Regions from separate parts of the Homo sapiens genome. Here region 2 is linked to region 1. The links are contacts of gene promoters, found by promoter capture Hi-C in blood cells and fetal thymus (Javierre and others, 2016). All regions are on one chromosome and are shown on one strand. The core of a region is centred on a gene start or on the middle of the fragment in contact, and the rest is flanking DNA. Distances in the headings are between cores, read along the strand shown. Region 1 holds the start of CRTAC1 (cartilage acidic protein 1). Region 2 overlaps CRTAC1 (cartilage acidic protein 1).

Region 1 (7,520 bases), core at 2,904-5,403:
AGTATATTCCTCTGGTCTTATCCAGAACCAGAACAAGTCTTGAGAATGCAGGCTCATTTCACCAGGTAAAGCTAGGAGCTGGTGAGATCTCAAGCATAGCCTCTTAAGACTCCAGTTTAAAGAGAGGGGCTTTTCCTCTCCGGTGGTCCACGTGATCCTGCACCTCCCTCCTCCCGCTGAAGATGAAGCTCCAACTTCATCTTCTGTGAGCATGAGGGAGAGGAGGGGACTCAAGCATCTTCCCTGGCAACAAGCATCCCTTTCGTGAGTCTTAGGGAGAGAAGAGGATTCCGCCTCTCAGAATTCTGGCTTGGCAGCAGTGGGTTTCTTACGAGGGTAGGCTTCCGAGTCTGCTGAGGCTCCAAGGAGAACCAGGAGGAAGTCCATCCAGTGTGCAAAGAAGCCAGGTGGGGAGATAATAACAAAAGGGGGCCGGGCGCGGTGGCTCACGCCTGTAATCCCAGCACTTTGGGAGGCCGAGGCGGGCAGATCACGAGGTCAGGAGATTGAGACCACAGTGAAACCCCGTCTCTACTAAAAATACAAAAAGTTAGCCGGGCGTAGTGGCGGGCCCCTGTAGTCCCAGCTACTCGGGAGGCTGAGGCAGGAGAATGGCGTGAACCCGGGAGGCGGAGCTTGCAGTGAGCCGAGATTGCGCCACTGCACTCCAGCCTGGGCGACAGAGCGAGACTCCGTCTCAAAAAAAAAAAAAAGAGAACAAAGGGGGCCGCCCACAGGCCACTCAGCAAACCTGTTTCCCAGAGCCCAGCTCAGATGTCGACAGCCAGGCTCTCGGAACAGAAGAAAGGGCAATGGAAATGGTAGTATCTTGCAGGTCACCGAAGAAGTCCAAACATAAGGATTTGGCAAAAATAGAATGTCCTAGCACTCTGACCTTGAGCTGGGAGCAGCAAGGGTGGGGGAAATAGGCAAATACTCTTTGGAAACTCTCCAATCCATCTATAATCTGAATCTGGGAGGTCTCACCAGCAGTGGTGTGACTGCAAGCAGAGAGACCCCACGCCAACATTCCTTGGCGCTCCAGACCTGGGTTCCAAGACCACAGTGAGGGACTCGGCACTTCTGACTCCTAAATGCACAGACTGAAACCTGGACTTGCATGGCTTTTGCTTAAAACACCACTTGGAATAATGAGACGAGATTGTAGAGGCAGGGAAAGAATAATTAGGAATTTCTATGACCTGTGTATGTCCATGACAAGAACTGTATTTTCTCCTCACCTCCTCACTCTGAAAAACAGATTCAAAATAGAATCTCCCCAACTGTATGGGATGTATTAATTTACCAAAGCCTGGTCAGTCAATAACTATGAGTGCCTACTGTATAGAGAAAGTATGTCCATCTTTATAGTGAAGAGGAAGCAGGCCGCTGGAGTGGAAACAGCTCTGAATCGAGCAGTGGGAATCCTAGGGCCTAGTTCCATGTCTTCCACCAAATAGCCATGTGACCTTGGCTTTATCCAGCTTCAGTTTTCTCATCTGTAAATTAAATGTGCATGTGAGTGTTGGGATGGAATGGGGTTGGATGAGATGCTCTCCAAGGCTCCTTGCTTCTGGCTCTAATGTTCTGGAACTCCATGAACCCTTAAAGAGTTCAAAGAACACAGCGGCACCAAGCACAAAGGAATGATCCCCGAGAGAGGGTGGGGCTGTGTACCAGCTCTGTCTCCTTGGAATGTTGTGCTTGCACCTGCCCCATAGCACCCGAGGTCACAGGACCACCTGAAGCCCAGGAAGCATGTGGTAGAAGGATTCCAAGTACGATGGTGGTGGTTGAAGGCTGTAGCCTGAGCTGCCTTAAAGCATTAAGTTGCTACAGCCAGTAAAGGGCAAGAAGTGAGAAAGTCAGTGGTCCTGAGCCAGGTACCTTTGGCGCCCCCTACTGGACACCAAGGAGTCTGCTCCACCTTTAGGCTTCCACCGCCTCAGCACGGAAGCAAGGGAGCGCTTGAGCATGAGAGGCTGTCACAAGCTGTTTAGTAGGACTGCCTTCCCGGTTGGTGGTATTCTTTCTATAGAAGTCTATTGCACTCCCTAGAATTACACAGGCCATTGGTCCACAGATTTACAGGGGCACCCCTGCGCAGCCATAGGACGTCTTAACCAAACATCAAGGTACCAAGGAATAAACACCAGGGTTCAGAACACCAGGTGCAGCCCAGATGGAGAAGGGAAGAAAGAGCAACAAGCAGGTATTTCGCTGCACAAATCCCCAGTGGAGAGAAGGTCTTGGGAAATGCAGCAGAAAAATGTTGACTGCAGCAGACAACGATGGAGCTGGGGGTTGGGATATAGATTGATAGCACCCATAAAATATCTCCAGGCTGAAGCAGGTACCCTAGGAGTTTGAACATCCACCTACATTCAGGGATGGGATAAGGTGGAGGATTCAGGCTCAAATGAGCAGCCACAGAGCAGGTTCCCCAGACTCCCTACACACCGTTTCGACCTTTTCCAGAGTCCATTAGTACCCACCGGAAATGGAAATGTTCTAATTGTGGTCCTCTGTGCCATCATCAAGACCCTCAACTCCCTTCATTACCTCTTAAATTGACTTTAGGACCTACTGCCAGAAGGATGTTCTTAACCAAGTCAGAGAGAGAGAGAGAACATTTTCTCAAGAACCATGCTGGAACAGCCACCATGTTCCCACTTTTCCAGCCTCCACCTCTCCCCCATGGCTGAGGGTGAGGTACTCTGTGACTCTCAATGAGCTCTAATTCAGTCTTGGACATCTCCAGCCCCAAGTCGTCTGGGTTCCAAATCTCCGTCAATCGCTTATCTCTTCCCACATGAGTTCTCCCCTGACTCAAGAAAACACTATAGAACTGTCCCCTGTCCTGGGACCCTCTTCCCTTCTTTTCCACTTGGCTTCACGTGGAAAGTCCTGCACCCATCCCAGAAGACACCTCAAGTGCAACTCAAGAATGTGTCCTGTCAGGAGAACGGAAGCATCTCCTGGGATGTGCAGAAGCCACACTGGGTGCACCCACCAGCAGCAGCAGCGGCGGCGGCGGCGGCGGCGGCGGCGGCGGCGGCGGCAGCAGCAGCAATATTCATTAGTCATTCCTGGAGGAAGCCCCCCCAGCTCTCAACCCTAGGAGAATTTCCCCGCCACTCTGGGAGGCTTCCATCCAGGCTGGGATGACTTTGGATTCTTGAGTTGCTTTCTGCAGAAGCGGGACTAACCAGGGCTCCCAACTACTGTACTGCAAAGAAGCGCGCTGCATTGCTGGGCATGCCCCCAAGCCCGGCCTGGCTGCCCCATCAAAGCCTCCAAGTGCCCCCACGGGGTCGAGGAGGACTCAGGGTTCCCCTGGAATGCCTGAAGCCGGCTTGCCTCAGGCAGCCTGAAGGGAAGACCACACCTCGTCCAGCATAAGGCGGCTAGCAGCTACGCCGCGCGCGGGGCTGGCTCCCGGAGCTCTCTGCCACCCAGCGCTGTGCCCGGGAACTCGGCTTCCCAGGGGAGGAAGAGCCAGCCCGCGGGGCTCTTCCCCAGCCTGGAAGCGTAGGCACTCGGCCGAGGCCAGTGGCTTCCCAGGCCCGGGTCTCAGCCTGGCTGACTGGGAGACTCTCCCGATAGCCCGGCACATCCCTCCTCACCCGCTCCGCCCCCTCCAGGCCCCAGAGGCCCCCTCCCCTGACAGCTGACCTCCAGTGCGCCCCCAACACTTTCTCTGCCAGCTGCTGGCTGTCGCCCCCACACATCAGCTCCCACCTCTCCGCCACCTCCAACCCGGCCGCCGCCTCACCCCCAGCCCGCGGGGGAGGCTCCGCGCGCCAATCGAGTCCAGCGCCTCCCAGCAAGTTAGGAGCGAAGCCGCCGCCTTCGCGATCCCAGTCTTCCCGGGTTCCCGGGCGGCGTCCCCGCCACCCTTGCGGGCGGATCCGGGGGGGCGCGCAGAGCTGGAGAAACTTTCTCCGCCTTAGGGTGGGGGGCACCGGTGCAGATACTCACGCCGGGGTCAGCGCTCGGAGCCATCCTCCCGCTCTCGGCCCCGCCGCCTAGGGGCGTGGGAAGCGGGCGCTCGCTGCCGCCTCTGCCGCCGGCGCCGCCGCCTGCTTGCTCCCAGCCCCGGTCCCGGGCTGGCCTCGAGCCTCCCGCCCCGACGCCGCGCGCTCGCTTTATACAACTCCACTCGAGCGCGCCCGGTCTTATGTAAAGGCTGGCGGAGGCCCGCAGCCAATGGCGCGGCAGCTGGAGCCGGGGGCCCGGGGTGGGGGGCGCCGGCGCGGCCAATCGCGGCCCCGAGAGCCCGGAGAGCCGGGCGTGGGGAGGGAGCGCCTCCCCGCGCTGATTTAGGAGCCGGGATTGCGGTGGCAGCAGCCGGCAGCCAGGCTGGCCCGGCGCGGCGCGGCGGCCACTGGGGTGGGCGGCGGCGAAGGCGGCGGCGAGGGCGGGCGCCCCCCGCGCCCCGCCACTGCGTCGCGTAACCTTCAGGCGGCAGCGAGGCCTGGCGAGGAGGGGAGAGGGCGCCTGGCTGGGCGCTGGGGGCCCCAGGCCGGAGGGAAGCGAGGGTCCCTCGGGAGGCAGCGCAGGGAAGGAACGCGAAGGGGGAGGGGAGGGCGGCGAGCCCCAGGACCCCGCGGCCACCCCTGCGCGCAGGACCGAGGGTGGAGGCGGGAGCGGCTGCACTGCCTTCCCATTTCCCCCCAGGATAGCGATCTGGCGTCGCCGGGCCGGGCCAAAGCGGCCGAGCGAGCCGCGCTGATGGCGAGATTTCGACTACGGAGCTAGAGCCGAGCCGATCTTTATCCAGCCTGGGGACGTGTCCGAGCACCTCCCGGGGACTGCTCAGTATGGAGAGCAGGGCTCCGCGACGGCCCCCGCAGGCGGGGAGCGGGCGAGCGCAGCTCGGAGATCAGGCGCGCAGAGGCCCAGGCGGCTGCGGGCAGCGCCGCTTCTACCCCACCCCGTCCCCACCAGCAGTGCCCCCACCCCATCCCACCTAGTCCCTACCCCAGCAGTGGCCGAGTCGGGCCTGGCCCACCCGCTCCTGCCGCCTGCGTCCTACTAGCCTCCCTCACCGCTTTGATCACAGGTACTGCCCGCCTCTCCTCGCCCCCAACCCGCTGCCTTGGTGGTGGTGGGGGGATGGTTTCTGCCTCTCTGGACCAGGGGAATGGGGGTGCTAAGCGCCAGAAAAACACACTTGATCAGCAATGCTCAAAATACCCCTGTTCAGGCAGGAAACTGGCCTTGGTGGGTCACACTCTGAAGGCAAATCCTTTATTTTACGCCTAGAATAGAGCCTGGCACATAGTAGGCGCTCAGTGTTTATTGAATGAATTCTGAGCTTCCATGAGTGAGGTCTTTGGGTTTCTGAAAGCCAGGTAAAGGGGCCACAGAAGAGAAAGACTTGGGAATCCACCATCGGAGAGGGAAGGAGCTAGGACTGTTTTCCCATCCGTTGACGCTTTTGTGACCATCACCCACTAGTCTGGCTTCTGGGCCCTTGACTCTTAGAATGATTTGAATGTGTTCTTTTATAGAGGGCCACACATCCAGCCTCTGGCCCCTGTTATCCACAGATTTTGAGCAGAACTACCAGGACCTAGTCTGGGCTCTGTTTTCAGGTCTCTGTGATCTTCCTCTGAAAAGAAATAGCTAGGCACAGACAAACTTTCTGGCTTTTTGAGCCCCCATCAAGCCTGTAAGGTTGTGGGCCCCTTTGAAAATCTGGCAAAAATTACTGAATCATTTTTCTAGAAAAATATACAAACACACACATTTACACACACACACACACACACACACACACACACACACACACACACCTTGAGTATACTTTCAGGATCATTAGGAACCCTGAGTCTCTTGGGGCTCGGTCCAATGTCAACCTGTTTCTTCAGGGGTCTAGGACAGTAGTTTATAATCACCCTCCTTTTGGGGATCACAGACCCTTTAGAACCTTTCAAGAATCTCATAAATGTTATGGATCTGTTGCTTATAAAAATGCTCACTCACATACACACATGTTGACATGCAACTTTAGGAGGGTTCGTGGATCATTAAAACTTAATCTAGGGCCCTGATTAAGAACCTTCATCTATCGGCAAATAGACTCTGCCCCCAAGGCCATATCTGATCCCCAGCTCTCTGCATAAGGAGTCCAGTTGGCTCTGCACCCTGCTGGAACATGCCACCACCTTGTTCTGAGGGCATCTGAGTCATCTGGCCAAGGCTCTGGCACCTGAGAGACTGTCTCCACACTTTCTCTGCATCTTGGTCCCCGCCACCCTCTTAATGTGGAAATAAGTTGCAGGTTGTCATATTATGTCTGATCTATGAGCATTCCTTAGCCAGAAACTCCAACTCAGGGAGACAGCAAGTGACTGGTAATTAACCAGTTTCACTCAATCCCAAACATCTGAGCACACCTTTCTTGGTTTTTGTTCTCACCTCTCTCTTCTCCGGTGAAGCTGTGCACAGCAGCCCCAGCTGTAGCGCCTCACCTCACCCAGACCCGACAGATTTAGTAACCAGCACGGTAATTATCAGCATTAGCCAACCAGATGTGAATAGGTGCTCTGTGCAAAATAACTCTGTAATAATCTCACACTTTCCTGCAGCTAGCCAGGTAAGGTTACAACAGACCAAAGGTGCTAGGGAAGGACAGAAAAATGCAGGAAATGATGGAGATGTTCCAGCCAGGAAGTGCTCCAGGGAATACAATCTGGCTTCAGCACTTGAACTTGTGAGGGTTTAGCCCAGTGGGCCAGGCAGTCCTGGTTGGAAAATTTCTCATTTCTCTGATGTCCTCGATGTCCATTTGCTCAGTTCATGTCAGTGTCTGCTCAGAGCTCCAGCCCTTCCCCACCCCCAATCCCGTGAGAGACCTCTTGTCCTCCCACATTGCCCAAACACAGCTTTCTTGAGGCACATGCACACGGTTATAGACTGAATTGTGCCTCTCCGGACCAAATTCACATAGTGAAGCCCTAACCCTTAGTGTGACTGCATTTGGAGATAAGGCCTTTAAAGGGGCAATTAAGGCAAAATGAGATCATAAGGGTGGACCCTAATTCAATAGGACTAGTGTCCTCGTAAGAAGAGAGAGAGATACCAGAGATCTCCCATTTCTCTCTGTGCATCCTCAGGAGAAAGCCTGCCTGAGTAACAGGAGGAGGCCATCTGCAAGCCAGGAGCAGGGCCTCTGCAGAAACCAGACCTGCCAGCACCTTGATCTGGGACTTCCAGGCTCCAGAACTGTGAGAACATTAACTTCTGTGGTTAAGCTCCACGTCTGTGGTATTGGCTATGGCAGTCTGAGCTGACTAATACACACATTTTCAGCACACCCTTACCCCATGCATCTTGTTCAGGCTCCAGTCCTTTGACCCCAGTGAAGTTGTTTTTTCTTCAGAGTGTTCCCCCACAGACTTCTTCATTCTTACCTGGGGAACGTGCTTAAATTGTTTTCTCATCTGTTCATACCCAAACCAAGTCTTCCTTCCTGCGCCACCTTCCAAAACTGCCCTGGCCAGCAGTTTTCA
Region 2 (7,520 bases), core at 3,637-6,136, 83 kb before region 1:
GAGTGAATGGAAGAGATGAAGCCCGTGGAAGGTACAAAGAGCTGAACAAAAGGTTGACTGGGCCACCAATCCCTTGTTTGTTCTTGGACTCTACACTTTCATCAATTCCCAAAATATTAATATATGTACAAACATAGTCATGAAAAAGAGCTTTCAGCACCAAGAATTGGTGTCCTGGGTGAGGAGGAGAGAAAACAACAAATGCTATAGTTATGGAGGATCGACTTCTTTTCGCTTAGAATCTTTGACCTATGTGAAAAAAATCGCTTAGGGAGTCACATAAGGGGAAGCCAGATAGAAGGATGTGAGCACCTATTATATACCAGAAACTGTGCTAAGTAATTTACATATGACATTTCATTATATATAAATAGAAACATTTTTTAGATTTGAAAGATACAGAAAATATGCTATCTGTTTGAAAATTAAGAACAGAGAAATTGTTTTCATTAAAATTTTTTTTCCATTAAAAAGTGAAAAAAAAAAAAGGCTGGGTATGGTAGCTCATGCCTGTAATCCCAGCACTTCAGGAGGCCGAGATAGGAGGATCCCTTGAGCCCAGGTGGTTGAGACCAGCCTGGGCAACATAGTGACACCTGTCTCTACAAAAAAATAAAATAAAAAATTTAGCCGGGTGTGGTGGTGCATTCCTGTAGTCCCAGTTACTCAGGAGGCTGAGGTGGGAGGACTGCTTGAGCACAGGATGTCGAGACTGTGGTGAGCTGTGATCATGCCACTGCACTCCAGCCTGGGCAACAGAGCAAGACCCTGTCTTCAAAAAAAAAAAGTGAAAAGTGAAAAGAATATATCTATTCAGTAGTATAGTCAAGATAGAGAGTCAGGGCAGAAAGAAGAGAGAGATGTATGAATGCACAAAGAGTGCAAGACCGAGACCAGAGACACATGGAATATACAAAAATGGAAATGAGGAAATATACAAAAAGGGAAGAGGAAGCCGACAAGCACAGAGAAAATGATATCAGAGCATACCTAAAACCTTTTAAGTAAACATAGATACAGAGGTAAAGACACCTACCCATATAAAGGGAGCCACATGAAAAAGGGCATCTGCAGATCTACAAAGACAAATGGAGAGACCCCTAGAAAGTCTCGAAGTCATGGACACATCAACAGGACTCTGAGATATGATCATAGAGAAATAATTCCATCTTGTGGCCACTTGGGGCATTTCCTCTAAACGTTTTTAAAAATGTGTTGCATTTTCACAACTATGGGCACACAGGAGTATTTTATTGTTGGTCACTTTGATACTCTCATTTTATAGATACACAAAGTTTCTGAGAAAAGTGACTTCTAAAGTCAAACAGCTGGTCATTAGATAAAATAAATGGAAAGACAAACTTATCCCTTAGTCTAAAGCAGGGATCAGCAAACTATGGCCTGTGGGCCAAATGGTCTGCTTCCATTTTCGTAAATATGGTTTTATTGGAATGCAGACATACTCATTCACTTATGTACTATCTATGGCTGCTTTTGCTAAATATTGAAGTTGATTAATTGCAATAGAGACCGTATGGCCAAAAGCTGAAAATATTTTCCATTTGGCGCTTTACTGAAAAAGATTGCCAATCCCTGGTCTCCAGGATTGTCAGCCTTATAGTATGAGTATATTACAAATTTTAAATGATAATTATCATAACAACAAAAAATTAGAATAAGGTTTAGTAAAAATTAATTTGGGCTTAGTACTTGGGAATACATAGTTTCCTGAAGCAAGTATTTCAGGGAGACTGAAGGTTAAATGTATGAAAGATTTTAGGTCTTAGGATGGCGACTGTAAGGCAAGATAACCTTTGGGGGAAAAAGAAACTGAGAAGAGCTGCTTAAGGGCCAGGTGCAGTGCCTCATGCCTGTACTTCCAGCACTTTGGGAAGCCAAGGTGGGTGGATCACCTGAGGTCAGGAGTTCAAGACCAGCCTGGCCAACATGGTGAAACCCCATCTCTACTAAAAAAAATACAAAAATTAGCTGAGCGTGGTGGTGCACACCCTGTAATCCCAGCTACTTGGGAGGCTGAGGCAGAAGAATCGCATGAACCGGGGAGGCAGATGTTGCAGTAAGCCAAGATCGCCCCATTGCTGTCAAGCCTGGGCAACAAGAGTGAAACTCCATCTCAAAAAAAAAAAAATGATAAAAGAGTTGCTTAAAATGACAACAGTGTTCTCTAAACAGGGATTTAATCTAAGGCTAAGAAATGAGCAAAAGCATTTGTGCTCTAAGTGAGGGGGTAAAAAGGTTGTGGTAGATGGTCTCTAAAAATGGTCACCATCATTTCCTTTCTTCTCTGTATGCATGTGTTACTCCACTCATGAAGACATGGAGTCTATTTCTCCTCCCCTTGAATTTGGGCTGGCTTTGTGATTTGCCTTGATTGCAGAAGACGGTGGAAGTGATGTTGGAGCAGTTCTGAGCCTAGCCTGCAAGGGGCCCAGTAGCTTCCACTTAGTCTCTGGAGGAAGCCAGTTACCATATACAAAATTTGGCTACCTTAAGACCACCATGCTCTGAAATCAAAGCTAGCCCTATGGAGAGGCCATGTGAAAGAGCACCAAGGCATCTGATATGTGAGCAAGAACTTCTCAAATCTTCCAGCCTAGCTCACTGACAGCTGAATGCAGCTAAGTGAGTGACACCAGCTGATGTCACATGGAGCAGAAGAACCATCCAGATGAGCCCTTTCCAAATTCCTGATTGGCAGAATAGTGAAAAATAATAAATTGTTTTTAAGCCCCTAAGTTTTCAGAAAAGAAAGTAGATAATGATGACCTATCATCTCAGATCTAAGGAGAGGAAAAATTTATCTCTGGCAAGTAGGAAAAAGGATTATTCATAAATCAGTGGAATTCTCTAGGATGGCTATTTGAATTCACAGTAGGCAGGTCTCCCCAAGGGAGGCCTGGACTAGTTGTGTTGGTACTTGGATCTGAGGATATGGGAAGGTCTGTGCAGAGCCCGAGGGTGGAAGGGTAATAAGAATACAGGGATCCCAGAAACTCCTGTTTTTCTACTCCTCTTTCTCTTTCTTCTTTCCTTTCTAACCATATCTAAATGTTTCCCATTTTGAATGCACACTCTTGAGAATAGATCATTTCTTTGGAAATGTGTGTAATGCTCTTTTTTTTGTTTGTTTTTACACATTTTATTCTTTGAAAGCCATTTAAGTTAAATAGGACCAGAAAACATATGGGAAGACATTCAAACAGGAGATTCACAGAATGTATCCTGGAATAGGATATATCCAGAGGCCATATATTAGTTTAAAGGAATAGAGACTTTGGTAATGGGAAGGTTCTGGGCGTGATGAGAAATCTGGGGCAGGGTTCCGCTAGGGAATAAATTGGGTAAGGTTGGAAAAATAACAATAACAAAATCAGATTTGATCCTGATTTAGGAGCTGGCCAGAGTGGAGAAGACTCCACAAATAGAGTGCTCTACTGAAGAAGGTAACTTTAAGAAAAAAGAGAAAAACCTTTTGTCCTAAGGGGCAGATGGTTTTTCAAGAAAGGGATGGTTGGCACCAAAAGGTCAGAATAATCTGCAGTGATGGTGTCTGTGTTCTGTAAAAACTCCACACAGACTGATTGATTTCGGCCTTGTTCTTAAAAAGATCTGTGCTCAGCATGTGCTCGATGCCCTCGGAATTTCTTATATTTTCATGAGCATAGAGGCACACAGAAGGCAGGGACTATCCTATGCAGCTCTATTCCCCATCACACCTAGCCCAGTGCCAGGAAAGACCAAGTGCTCAGTCATGTTTGCTGATGATGACGAAGACCATAACTCCATTTCTCAATGCATGTTTCTAGGAAAAGAAGAAGACAGGGAGTCAGGAATTCCCATAAACTGTCAAAGAAGGGATTCAGGTGACAGATGGAGGCTGTGTTAATCAGGATTCTTTGGTTGCAAGTGAACTAGTTGAGAAATGTATTGGCTTAAATGTCCAAACTGCAGGAACAGCAAAAGTGCAGCTAGGCTTCTGGATGACTGGAACCAGGATGTGGTCAGCACTTCCTTTTCCTTCTTTCTCATTCTTTTCTCTGCCTATGGACCTCATTCTCTCACATGATCCTCCTTCCCAAGACTTCAACTATGGCAGCATTCCCAGACTCACATCTCAGCTTCAGGACCAGAGGGGAGATTGTGTTCTCTCCTCAGTTTGCATGTAAAAAACCCCAGAAAAGAGCTCTGATTGGCTCAGGGTGGGTCACCTGTCCATCTCCAGAGGCAAGAGCTGGGAGCCTGTGGTTGGTAGCTTTCAACTAGTAGCAAGGCCAGTGAAAGTGGCATCTTGGGATCCACCTATATGCAGGAAGAGAAGTGCCAGGAAGGATAAGGATGTGGTTTTAGATGACAGTGACTCATTTGGGTCTGCATATTCTGGAGACAAACCTACCAGGGCCTCCTGATGGAAGACAACAAATGCTTCCCTGGGACCACCAAGTCACTGTGTCCTCTAGACACATCTCAAGGGCCCCCTATTCCCCTCCAGAAGCCCCAGAAAGAAGTAAACACAGAAATTGGAACAATGTTTGAGTCACTAGGTTCTCGAAACGGTCTGGTTCGAGGACACTAAGAGTTGGCAGCGATGAGATCAGCAAGTGGATCCCAGAGTCTGGCCAGAGCTCACCCACTTGCTGTGGATTCAGGCAAATCACTAACTGCTTGGTCACAAAACACTTTAAATATCTATTCAAACTTTCTTTCCTTCATGCTATAACTACCCAGAAGCTTCTAGCTAAAAAGCTGTTGGTCTTTATCTCTCTTTCAGTTGAGGAGGTAGGCCAATTTAGGGACAGAATAGTTGGGGCAAGGAGCCAATGAATGCTTCACTCTTCTTTAAGAGTAAAAAGATAAGTCAGGCATTGACTTCATTCCACCCTTCTGGGATCCTATTTCTAGGCAGGCACACCGCGAGGTACTGTGATGGACGCACATGGCATATGATGTAATTCTCTGCTCAGAGTCTCCAGCCTAGTATAGCAAATAAGGAGTGGTCCCAATCCCAAGCTTTCAGAGGGCAGAGGGCCAAAAATTGTTGGGGTAAAAGTTTTAATAAAGGTTTGTTTGATCTGGAACTTGAAGGATGTATAGGATTTTAGTAAGAGACATATGGGTCAGGCATTTATGAAAGAAATGGTGTGAGCAAGGAACAGAAAAATATGTTTAGGGAATACGGGGTAGACTAGCTGGACAACATAGAAGTGTGTGTTGGACAGAAGTGAAAAATAGTGAAAAGCAAATTGGAAAAGTACACGTTCCGTGAAAAGCCTGTATATGCAAAGCATTCCCCAAATGTTAAAGGAGCTGAGAAATAAAAGAATGAGGTAGACAGATACAGATTGTCGGTAAAGGATGTTTAATTGGGGGAACTTAAAGACAGAAGCATGGTCTTGGTGTACTGGGCAACTAAGATTGTGGAAGATGTGGCATGAAACTAAGGATTTATATTTTCTGGGTCAGGTATGGTGGCTCATGCCTGTAATCTAACACTTTGGGAAGCCAAGTTGGGAGGATCGCTTGAGACTAGGAGTTTGAAATCAGTCTGGGCAAAATAGTGAGACCTCATCTCTAAAAATAAATAAATAAAATAATAATTAAGAAATAGATGAAGATTGTGTTTGCTAGGAAATAGGGGGCTACTGAAGGATTCCGTGCAGGGTATACTGTTATGTCAAAACAATGTTTTGGAGATCATTGTCTGGTATGCATGAAGGATTGGCCAAGGAAGAGAATTGAAATGATAGTGCAGAATAATGGCAATTGGATTCCATGGCATTCCCTGAATTATTGCAAAAAAAAAAAAAAAACTCTTCTGAGCTAATGTGATTAGGTTTCTGTTCCTTATAATAAGTAAATTACCCTTAAGACAAAGTAGAGTCAAAAAAGCACAGAAATCAGGAAGGCAAGGGTTAAAATAAGAGGGGTAGCCAACAGTGTCAGATGCTTTCAAGGGTCAAAAAGGCCAAGGACTGGAAAAAGCAAGTGTATTTGGCAATTTGGAAGCCACTGATAACCTTCAAGAAAGCTGTTTCCTTAGAGAGGAGAGGAGAGGAGAGCTAGACTGAGGAGGGTGCATGGGAGTGGATGGGGCCACAGTGTGGATGGGTCATTTAGGACAAAAAGTGCTCTGAAAGTCCTAAGATATGTGCTGGGGGACACGTGGTTAAGCAAGGGTTTCACCAAGCTTTGGGACTGTGCATGTTTGTGAGCAAGAGGAAAAGACCTAGGAGAGGCAGTGGATGCTGCAGGCATCTAGGCAGGGTGTGCAGTAGGTCAGCAGAACAGAGTGTCATGTACCAGCTGATGGGTTGGGCCTGGAATTAAGAGGAAAGGAAGCCAGGATGGGCAAGAAGATAGAATGAGGTGGAAGAGAGCAACTAGACAGTAATATCCTGTATTAGTTCATTCTCATGCTGCTATAAAGAACTGCCCGAGACTGGGTAATTTACGAAGGAAAGAGGTTGAATTGACTCACAGTTCCGCATGGCTTGGGAGGCCTCAGGAAACTTACAATTATGGAGGAAGGGGAAGCAAACACTTCCTTCTTCACATGGCGTCAGGAGAGATAAGTGCAGAGCAAGGAGTGGGGGAAAGCCCCTTTTAAAACTATCAGATCTCGTGAGAACTCACTCGCTATCATAAAGACAGCATGGGGGTAACTACCGCCCCATGATTCAATTCCCTCCCACAGCACATGGAGATTATGGGAACTGCAATTCAAGATAAGATTTGGGTGGGGACACAGCCAAACCATATCACACCCAGAAAGCTAGGGTTAGGTTCACAGCTGAGAGGACAGTGTGGAAGTCACAGTGCAGCAGCCTGCTGGATTAGCAAGAGATGTTGAAGGAGAAGCTAGATTAGCAAGTGAGAGACTTACACATGACCACTTGCCATGGTAAACAGGGCCTGAAGGATCAGCCACCTCAGAGGGGGATGTCAGGCCAACTCAAGGAATGTGAGCTGCTGTGAGCAGGTGCTGGGACCCTGGTCCCACAGAGAAGACAGACCCTGCACCAGGAGGGGAGCAATCTGTGCAGAGAGTCCTGGGCAGGGCCAGGGAGCCAAATTGGACAAAAGGGCACAGGCAGAGGTGGAACAGAGGCAGGGCTGTCTCAGGGAACCAAGCTGGGGTGGAACAAGGGAAGGCAGCCATGCAGAATGTGGGGCAGGCATTTAGGGTCTTAAGATCCGGGACAAGGGCTGCCTTCCCCCAACCCTACGGAGTGTCTTGGTAAAGGTGGCAGAAGCATCTGCTCTCCAGAGTGAGGTGAGTTCTGTGGGGGTAGCACAGAGTGGCGGAGAGAGCCCTGGACTTGAAGTCAGACATAAAGGCTGAGAGGCAGCATAGCTCCATGCTGAGGCACTCAGCCGGGCAGTCAGACCACCTGAGGGCAGATTTCTGCTCTGCAACTCTTCAGCTGTGTGGGTGCTCCTGGTCAAGCCACCTAACCTGTCCAAGCCTCAGTTCCCTCATGTACAAAGTGAGGATGCTGAGA

Evidence for each region. Contacts are between HindIII fragments. The CHiCAGO score rates a contact against its expected background, and 5 or more counts as called.
Region 2: a contact is called between a fragment that was not itself captured here and the fragment with the promoter of CRTAC1 in region 1, in 1 of 17 cell types (M1 macrophages). The highest score is 5.3, in M1 macrophages.

Annotation. Positions count from the first base shown.
Region 1 is chr10:98,026,468-98,033,987 of GRCh38, forward strand. It overlaps CRTAC1 (cartilage acidic protein 1), which reads right to left and starts at 4,154. Exons shown (of 15, transcript NM_018058.7): 1 at 3,982-4,154. The coding sequence starts at 4,005. The HindIII fragment of the contact is 20,576 bases long and covers 1-7,520 here.
Region 2 is chr10:97,942,297-97,949,816 of GRCh38, forward strand. The region is part of intron 2 of CRTAC1 (cartilage acidic protein 1); the gene reads right to left. Among named protein-coding and RNA genes, the nearest start is that of MIR3085, 70 kb to the left of the region's middle. The HindIII fragment of the contact is 279 bases long and covers 4,748-5,026 here.